Linked DNA regions of Homo sapiens: region 2 is linked to region 1. Evidence: promoter capture Hi-C in 16 types of primary human blood cells and fetal thymus (Javierre and others, 2016). All regions are on one chromosome and are shown on one strand. Each heading gives the region's core, a stretch centred on a gene start or on the middle of the fragment in contact. The rest is flanking DNA. Distances are from core to core; before and after follow the strand shown.

What was found. The method cuts DNA at HindIII sites, captures the fragments that hold promoters and counts their contacts. A CHiCAGO score of 5 or more calls a contact.
Region 2: the fragment with the promoter of RTCB here is called in contact with a fragment that was not itself captured in region 1 in 1 of 17 cell types (total B cells); the score reaches 5.2 in total B cells.

Annotation. Positions count from the first base shown.
Region 1 is chr22:35,252,872-35,257,691 of GRCh38, reverse strand. HMGXB4 (HMG-box containing 4) reads right to left here and starts at 199. Exons shown (of 11, transcript NM_001003681.3): 1 at 135-199. LOC105373017 (a long non-coding RNA gene) reads left to right here. Exons shown (of 4, transcript XR_938210.3): 2 at 431-479. RefSeq lists a silencer at 1-139 and an enhancer at 405-905. The HindIII fragment of the contact is 1,741 bases long and covers 380-2,120 here.
Region 2 is chr22:32,409,861-32,414,680 of GRCh38, reverse strand. It overlaps RTCB (RNA 2',3'-cyclic phosphate and 5'-OH ligase), which reads left to right and starts at 2,434. Exons shown (of 12, transcript NM_014306.5): 1 at 2,434-2,617. The coding sequence starts at 2,525. BPIFC (BPI fold containing family C) reads left to right here. Exons shown (of 17, transcript NM_174932.3): 17 at 256-836. The coding sequence ends at 378. RefSeq lists an enhancer at 2,285-2,464. The HindIII fragment of the contact is 2,194 bases long and covers 1,335-3,528 here.

The sequences.
Region 1 (4,820 bases), core at 1-2,500:
TAGGCCGCGAAGGGCCTGGGGCACCCCAGAGGTGATGTCGCGGGCCCAGGGCGGCGGGTGGCGACGGGGCGGGGCTGCTGCCGCCTCAGGGTGGGGGCCCAGCCCGGTCTCCTGGGGTCTCCGCTCGCCGCTACCTTCACTCGGCTCGCCCGGATCCCGCCTCAACGCCGCCGATCGCCGCCATCTTGGAGAAGGAGAGAAAAGCGCGAGCGGCCAGGGAGCCTCAGTCGAGCCCAGAGCGCAGACTCGGGCTCCGGAGGGGGAATCCCGCTCGACCAAGAGCGCCGAGCGCATCGAATAAAACTCGGAGCCTGCTGAGCGCGGGAGCTGGCACTTATTTATTGAGAATTTGCTATGTCCCAGCCTTGCCCTAGAAGCTTACAAACATTATTTCACTTAATCCTCACTGTATTCCTGTCGCATTTTGCAGAAGAGAACCAGGCTGAGAGAAGTTAAGTGACGTGCCCAAGGATACACAGGTAGTTGGAATGTGAGACCGAGTATTACTCCAAGTCTTCTGATTCTGAATGCAGTGCTTTCCCCAAAATACTATGCTGTTTCTTTCAAGATATTGTTATACAGCAGTTCTCCTCTTTGCAACACCTAGATCTATGCAGATTAATAGCAGTGTGCTTATTTGGACTTCAGCATCTACATTTGAACATTTGGCATATTAGGGGTGAGGTGAAGAACTTATCTTTGTAACAATGTACAGTAAAATAATTTGCATGGCGAATCATCTACATTTTTTAGTTAGAAACAGTCTTCAGAGAGAGAGAGGAAGAGATGTCATATACAGGCGAGAACACAATTTTTCTGATTTGCCATTGAGAACTTCGACCAATGAGTAGAAATTACAGTGTATAGAACTTGGTTTGATATGAAGAAGAACGCCAGGGGCGGTGGCTCACGCCTGTAATCCCAGCACTTTGGGAGGCTGAGGTGGGTGGATCACCTGAGGTCAGGAGTTCGAGACCAGCCTGACCAATGTGGTGAAACCCCGTCTCTACTAAAAATACAAAAAATTAGCCAGGCGTGGTGGCGCGTGCCTGTAATCCCAGCTACTTAGGAGGCTGAGGCAGGAGAATCGCTTGAACCCGGGAGGCGGAGATTGCAGTGAGCCGAGATTGCGCCACTGCACTCCAGCCTGGGGGACAGAGTGAGACTCCATCTCAAAAAATATATATATATATGAAGAATAACTTATTTTTCTAGTACAGTTCAGTAGTACAATGGGCTTCCTTGTGAGTAGTGAGCTCCCTCCCACTGGAGGAGCGCTCAAGCAGAAGCTGGTGTTACTGTAAAGCAGAGAAGTTAGAGATGTAGATTGGCTTCTAGAGTTGTGAACCCCATGCAACGTAAAATCATGTGTGCAGTGTGTGTTTTCCTAGGGCCCAGGCCCCATAAAAAATTAAGAACCTCTGTCCTAGTGTATTTTCCATTGCAGAGTTGGGTGAGTGCTTGAAGACGAGGTAGTCATGAGACCAATAAAAGCAAGGTGATTTGTCTGAGACCACACTCTAATCAGTGATCAGATAAAGATGAAAAGCCAGATTGTTAGACTCTGGTTCAGTGCTCTTTTTGCTATATCATGCTCTCTCCCCCTCTGCACTGAGTAGAAGATTGATTCTGTTTCTTACAACTGTGAGATGCTGAGATGTTAAAACACCTGAGATAAAGTTGCTGAAATCATTTGCAAAATGTAACTGCAAATACTTAATAAAAGTAGCATGGCCTTTTTCTCCGCAGCTCCCATCCTACTCACCAAAAAGACAGGCAATGAGTTTCACCAAAAGGTGTTAGATTGCATTTCTGGGACACCCTGCCTGACGTTAGGCTTCCCTTTGAGGCATTTAAGAGCCCTAATGATGTATTTCCTTTTTGTTCTTCAGAGCCCTAAATCCATTGGTCAGGATGATTTCAGTTGTGACAGAAACCCATTTCCATGTGTTTCCCCAGAAGAGGGGAATTTATTGGCTCACATGATTGAAATTTCCAGTACCTGCAGACATGGTCACTTCCAGGGAGGTAACTCAAGCTGGTCCTTTGACGTGTCTGTGGTGCTCTCCTCTGTTAGCTTTATTCTCAGATTCAGGTGATGACTCCAGCAGCTCCAAGCTTCATCATCTTTCCTGCTAGCAGTGTCCCTGTGGAGGGAGGTTTTGTTTGTTTGTTTTGAGACAGGGTCTTTCTCTGTCACCCAGGCTGGAGTGCAGTGGCACGATCACAGCTCACTGCAGCTTCGACCCCCTGAGTTCAAGCAATCCTCCCACCTCAGCCCCCCAAGTAGCTGGGACCACAGGTGCATGCCACCATGCCCAGGTACTTTTTGTATTTTTTGTAGAGATGGGTTTTTTTTGTTGTTTTTTTTTTACCATGTTGCCCAGGCTGGTCTCAAGCTCCTGGACTCAAGCAATCCTCCTGCCTTGGCCTCCCAGAGTGCTGGGATTACAGATGTGAGCCACCATGCCTGGCCCTGGAAGGAGTTTCTTTTTCCCTTTTGCTTTGGCAAAAGTCATGGGATTGATTCTTATTGCCTGAATTAGATCATGTGTCCAGACAAAAAGCAATCACTATGAGTAAAGGTGTGGAGTCTGCTGCTGCTGCTGATTGGTTAAATTAGGTCATCTGCTTACCTCCAAAATTAGGTTGGGGTAGACACAAAGAAAATCAAGGGTTGCTGTCAGAAGGGTGAGTGCATGTTAGGTAGGCAAAAACAGTAGCTGTCCCCACACTCTACCACTAGCTTGGACCTAAAAGCCTTATGAGTCCTATTGGTCCCATTTCTTCTTTTAGTCCACCTGAAGATGGAGCATATCAAGTTCTTGCTCATTTTAAGCTCCTGGAGACCTGAAGTCAGATCTCTCCTCAGCCTACTCACTCAATCACAAAATGCTATTAACTTGCTCCCAGTCTTGGATCATTGCACTTCCATTTATTAAACAGATATTTATTGAAAACACAGCATGTGGCAGGTACTGTCTTAAGTGTTGGGAATAGAACAGTGAACAGAATTGAGAGTCCTTGGCCCCCAGGAGCTTACATTCCGGTTGGGTTGGGGGACACAAAATTAAGATATGAATACTACATTCAGTGATAATCAGAGGTGGAGAAAATAATGCCAGGTTGGCTACGAGAGTACCAGCAGGGGATGTGGGTAGGAACAGCTTGTTCTTTAAAACAGTAATCAGGGAGGCTTCTCTGTTGAGGTGCACACCGGAGCTAGCTCAGCCAGAAGTGGGTTGGTGGTGGGAGCCAGGAGATCATAGTTCCTTGAATGTATTCAAGTGCTTCCTCTGTACCTTGCTGGAAAAGTATTCTTTGCTGACTATCTTTCATAGTTCTCTTGCATTTTTGAAACTTGGAAAGACAGAAAAGAGGACCCTCTGGGCAGGCCTAGTCATGGTGGGGTTTGTGAATAAGAATGCCTTTTCCCATGGCAAGTGAGGATAGCATCTAGCATATGTGAAGAGGGGGCACTCCCTAAGTGTGGGGCAGTTCTCTGGTCCACCTGATCTAAGGAAAACTGCCTGGTGCCTGGCAGCAACAGGTGGGGCCTGTCAAATTGTGCTTGGTTTGGACATCTCTTTCTTCAGGCCACTTTTCTGTGCTCTTCTCTTTCCAGATGTGTTTTGAGCAGCGTCTTTGTCTTCGGTCTGATGGGAGGATGCCATCCTGGGTACATACATTAGGCCAGGGCCTTTTGCTAGAAGTGACAGGACCTAATTAAAACTACCTTAAGAGACAGGCAGAGGGACATACCACAGATTCTCAGTCTGTGTGTATGCCCTAAATTGCAAAATTAAAAAAATAAAGAGACCAGTAGAAAATATGTAACTCATGTAAAAAACAAAACAAAACAAAAACTACTCAGAGCCAGAGAGAAGCAGGCCCTCTGGACAGCTGGGTCCGGGGATTCAAATCCTTCCCTCTTAACTCTGTTCTCTCAGGCTGGCAGTCCCTAGGGGCCTGGAATCATGGCCACAGGTAGCCCAGGCTTACATCTTTATAGTCTCCTGACCAGAGAGGAAAGAGCATGTTCCCACATCAGCAACACACATACACACACACACACGCGCGCGCGCGCGCGCACAAAATCCAAGAGAAGAACTCCAATTGGCTGGGATGGGGTCATGTGATCATTCAGTATTGTGATAGTTCCTGGGATACCACAAAGTTGCAATAGGACATTAGTCCTTCTATAAAAGAAAGGGGATCTATTCTGGGAAGACAAATAATAAATGTCCCCTATGGTGAAGCAATGATACTTGTTTTCCTGCTTTTGAGCAACTTATTATCTTCTGTGTGTATGTGTGTTTTGTGGGCAATGTAAAACAAGTCTAAGTCCATAATTACTATGGTACAAATGTAAAAGAAAAATGTGCCCCAATAGATGGGCCATCTCTCATTGGGCTATTACAATAGCTTCCTAATGGATTTTTATCTTCAGGGCCCCTTCCCCACTTCGAAGTCCATCCGCCATTGCTGTCAGGATAAAGCACTGCTAACATGAGCTTATACTTCAGCTAATGACTTTTTTCTTTTTTTTTTTTTTTTTTGAGATGGAGTTTTGCTCTTGTCGCCCAGGCTGGAGTGCAGTGGCATGACCTCGGCTCACTGCAACCTCCGCCTCCCGGATTCAAGCGATTCTCCTGCCTCAGCCTCCCAAGTAGCTGGGATTACAGGTATGTGCCACCACACCCAGCTAATTTTTGTGTTTTTAGTAGAGATGGGGTTTCACATGTTGGCCAGCTGGTCTTGAACTTCTGATCTCAGGTGATCCGCCTGCCTCAGCCTCCCGAGCTGGGATTACAGGCGCG
Region 2 (4,820 bases), core at 1,185-3,684, 2.8 Mb after region 1:
TTAGCCGGGTGTGGTGGCACACACCTGTAGTCCCAGCTGCTTGGGAGACTGAGGCACGAGAATCACTTGAAACCGAGGGACGGAGCTTGCAGTGAGCCAAGATCGCACCACCACACTCCAGCCTGGGCGACAGCCTTTGAGACTCCATCTCAAAATTAAAATAATAAAAAAAAGAAGCCATCTCTTCCTCACGCCTCAGACAAACCCAGACATGCCCAAGTTTTGACGTTATCTTCATTGTCACATCCTTTCCAGGGTTTCCTTTTGATTTCCACCGACCTGAAGTATGAAACATCCTCAAAGCAGCAGCCAAGTTTCCACGTATGGGAAGGTCTGAACCTGATAAGCAGACAGTGGAGGGGGAAGTCAGCCCCTTGATTGCCGGTTTGCAATTCACCCCAGGAAGTAAATGGTCCTTAATCCTACAACTACTGTAAACCCAGAAGGGAAAGACAGTACACACTGGAATTGTAAAGCCCTTGTGAATTGCTTAGGCAGAAAGTTTTCTTTCTTAAGCCTTCAGGAACCCAGAATAAGGCAGACTCTGTTAAAGGGATAAATAGAGGTGTCTGAATGTGAGTGTATGCATGCTGCGTGTGTCTGTGTTTATGTTTGTTTGTTTGTTTGGGGCAAGAAAGATTCTAGGACAAGAGCTAGGCATGTACTTCTGACCAGGTGGGTAAGCAACTCTAAGTCTGTATTTGTATTGGTCATTCTCAGTGGAAATCCCTTAGGCCCTCTAGTGGTTTTCCCCTACCTGCATATTGGTTTTCATGTTTTATATTCACTGTTACTATCTTCTGTGTTTAATTAAAATTGTTTTCTATCAACTTCAATCTTGGTTTTTTTATTTGAGAAATGGCCTGCCCTGAATTTTTAAAAAATAAAATAAGAGGCCAGCCACAGTAGGCCATGCCTGTAATCCCAGCACTTTAGGAGGCCAAGGTGGGCGGATCATGAGGTCAAGAGGTCGAGACTATCCTGGCCAACATGGTGAAACCCAGTCTCTACTAAAAATACAAAAATTAACTGGGAGTGGTGGCACGCACCTGTAGTCCCAGCTGCTTGGGAGGCTGAGGCAGGAGAATCGCTTGAACCTGGGAGGCGGAGGTTGCAGTGAGCCGAGATGGCACCACTGCACTCCAGCCTGGCGACAGAGCAAGACTCCAACTCAAAAAAATAATAAAATAAAATAAGACATAGAAAAGGGAAGAGACCTAAGGTTGCACAGACATCAAGGCTTGATTTTAAAAGAGAATTCTTTACCTCTGAAATCTTTCCAAGAAGGAACAGGGTAACCACAGGAAACTCTAAAAGTTGTATCACTTCAAGCTTTGGGATTTTTCACCCACCACAGATTCAATGAAATGGCAGTGCAGAGTACTAAACTCAGACAATTCATAACTGAGAATGATATTAATGTGTCAGAGCACCTAATCAATGGGGAGAAATTGGGGCAGAAGAGAAGAAAAGCGGAACCAGTGTAGATAATGCAACAAATGAATGGAAACTACATACTGTTTTTTGCAGCACTTACAGTCTAGTGGGGGAATGGAAAGAGGAGAGCTGTTTATAGAGTGCTTGCCGTGTGCCAAGCCCCGTGCTGATTACCCCTCCAGTGTCACTTCATTTAGCCTTCTACTCAAGAAAGAATTATGATCCCATTTTAGAGATGACGAAACAGAGATAAGAGGGGTTAATCACACCAAGTCAGTAAATGGCACAGATAGAAATTGAATCTTGCGTCTTTCTAATCCCAAAGTTGCAGTTGTTGACATGAGGCCGAACTGGAAACTGAAATCACTTAAAGCTCACTTACCACTATGAACAAGAGACACGGCGTATAAAAGCATGATTAAAGAGGTCTTGATCATCAAATGCGGCTAGACTGGGGAGTTTTGGCGATCCATAAGGGCTGTGATTTGATCATTTTGTAGTATATGTCTGGCCACAATAGATGCACCCACAAGTGTTTGTCAGAATAAATGATAAGCTGCCATGCTTCATTCTTTGGGATGCTCCTTTCTGACCAAAAAAGTTATTTGGTGTATATCCAGATTCATTCTGAAACATAAATGTTCAGCTATGGTATTTACTCAAACAGGTTTTTCTTTCTCAGCTGCTGGCGTTATCTTTTTCCCCTCCCAGCTGAGGGTGTAAACTCCAAGCCAATGCACCGAACCTGACCCAGACTCAAGGTGTTTTCATAAGCTGCTGAAAAGCATTTCCAAAACAAAAGATAACTAGATTATACTTTAAACTTCTGGATTTCGCTTAGCTGTAGTTTAGAGGAAATCGACTAATAAAGATCCTAAAGTTATACACTACAGGACAGTACAACTTAACCAGAGGAAAGACATTGGCCTGAAGAATTTTGAGCCTCGGCGCTTGCCGTTGCTCATCTGCTGCGGCGCTGGTCGCGCCTGCGCTTTGGTTCTTGGAAGGCGGTGCTCTGAGAAGCCGGACTACGCGGCAGCGGCTCTTCAAAGCGGAGCCGGGAGTTTTTGCTACAGTTTTCGCCACCATGAGTCGCAGCTATAATGATGAGCTGCAGTTCTTGGAGAAGATCAATAAAAACTGCTGGAGGATCAAGAAGGGCTTCGTGCCCAACATGCAGGTAAGGCAGGAGAGCAAATGGCGGGGCCTTCCGTGCTCCGTCCCCGGCCCGGCCGGCGTCCACTGCGCCCTCTGGACCTCCCCTGACCACTGGGTCCGCCCCGGCCCCTTGCAGAGTTTCCCTCATCCCGTCCTTCTCCCCTCACGGTTCTGGGGCCGCCCAACCTGTTCCGGCACCACCTCCCGCCAGGAGAGGTCCCCGAACCACGAGGACAAGCTAAGTGCGGTGGATATGGGAATCTAAATAAATACGAAATTGGGGTTTCCAAAGCGTTTTCACAGATCAGTCTCATAAACGTATCGTGAGCTGTTTTACGTTCACAGAAACTTCAGTGATCTTTTCCAGGGTGGAACAGCCAGCCCCAGGTTCATTTGCTGGGACTGGAATTCACCTCCTCTGAGTCATGCTGGTTATTTAAATAACGTTTACAAACCTTTGTTCACTAAACCAGGTTTTCAGCATTCAGTATCGCATGTTGGTTTTTAATAAAGCGATGTCATTTCTTGCAGTAGCGCAGGGCAGGGCCTGTTTGATTTTAATATTCACTTCACAGAAGGACCTCGAGGATCTGTCGGTGACATAGCTTCCTCTACCCACCTAGGAAGAAGCTCAGCCAGGACTTGATGTCCGGTTTACTTCTTTGACGTCCCAGATGGAGACTTGAGGGCTCAGGATCATCAGATAGTTTGAAAGCCTGGGCTCTGTATCTCTCGGCCTTCATCACCATCTGTGCTCATATTTTTATTAATGTGAAAAAAGAAAACGTTTATGAAGTTTTGCAACGTATTTTTAAATAGTTTTTGAAATCCCTGAAGGTGCCAAGTAAATGCTTCAAAGGTTTACCGTCTCGTCTCACGTCTTGGTAAACAGCTCCCAATAGTCACTCCATTCTTTTATTCAGAATCAAAGCTTACTGAGTTTCCCTTGTTGGCAAGTCACTTACACTGAGGGAAGAAAAAGCGCACGGGGATAAATCTGTGTTCTGTTTGCTGTTTGGCCACTTTCTTTGTGTGGAAACCGTTACCCTGAAGGAAGGAATAGAAAATCTAACATAGGGAGAGCGCAGTGGTTCATGGCCTGTAATCCCAACGCTTTGGGAGGCCAAGGCGGGAAGATCCTTTGTGCCTAGGACTTTGGAGACCTGCCTGGGCAATATAGTGGGACCCTGTCTCTACAAAAAAAATTTAATTAGCCAGGCGGGGTGGTGTGCACCACAGCTACTCAGGAGGCTGAGGCAGGGGGATCGCTTGAGCCTGGGAGATCTTGGCTGCAGTGACCCGTGATCATTCTAAACTGCACTCCAGCCTAGGTGACAGAGTGAGTCTCAAAAAAAAAAAAAAAGAAAAGAAAAAGAAAACACCATGACATGATTATCTGTAGGATCTAATAACACAGACTGTCATTGTCTGGCAGGTGTTCTGACTCAGCCTTTGATGCACACACTGCTGCTCATTCTATCTAGGGGCAAGTCTCATTTTGCTAGGCAGTTCTGGTTTAAGTTTGTATACAGCACTTTACTACCACCTTTCCTTTGGGAATAGAGACTTGGAATGTTAATGCATTGCTCTTAAAACGCTATTGACTTCTAAGCGTGAATTGTGCTTCCATATGAGAGCAGTGAATTTCACACAGATAATCATCTGTTACTAAATCTCCATTTCTCCCCCAAGACCCACATGTTGGACTAAAAATTTCTCTTTATTCCCTTAAAACACTCCCTTCCCATCTTTACGTCATTTTTGCGTTTAGTTCCTAGATGTTCTGCTGCGCCAGTGATGTCTCTTGTCTTCAAAGAACCAGCTCTACAGGATCTCTGTGAAACCTCTCCCAGCTCCCTAGACTGTTGAGGCACTTCCTCATCAGATTCTTCCATAGCACTGTGTACTTAATGTTATGGCACTTGCTTCATTGCACTCTGATATTCTTATCAGAATATAAGGGCTGTACTGGCTGGGTGCGGTGGCTCACGCCTGCAATCCCAGCACTTTGGGAGGCTGAGATGGGCGGATCATGAGGTCAGGAGATCGAGACCATCCTGGCTAACACGTGAAACTTCGTCTCTACTAAAAATACAAAAAATTAGCTGGGCGTGGTGGCGGGCACCTGTAGTCCCAGCTACTCGGGAGGCTGAGGCAGGAGAATGGCGTGAACCCAGGAGGCAGAGCTTGCAGTGAGCCGAGATCATGCCACTGCACTCCAGCCT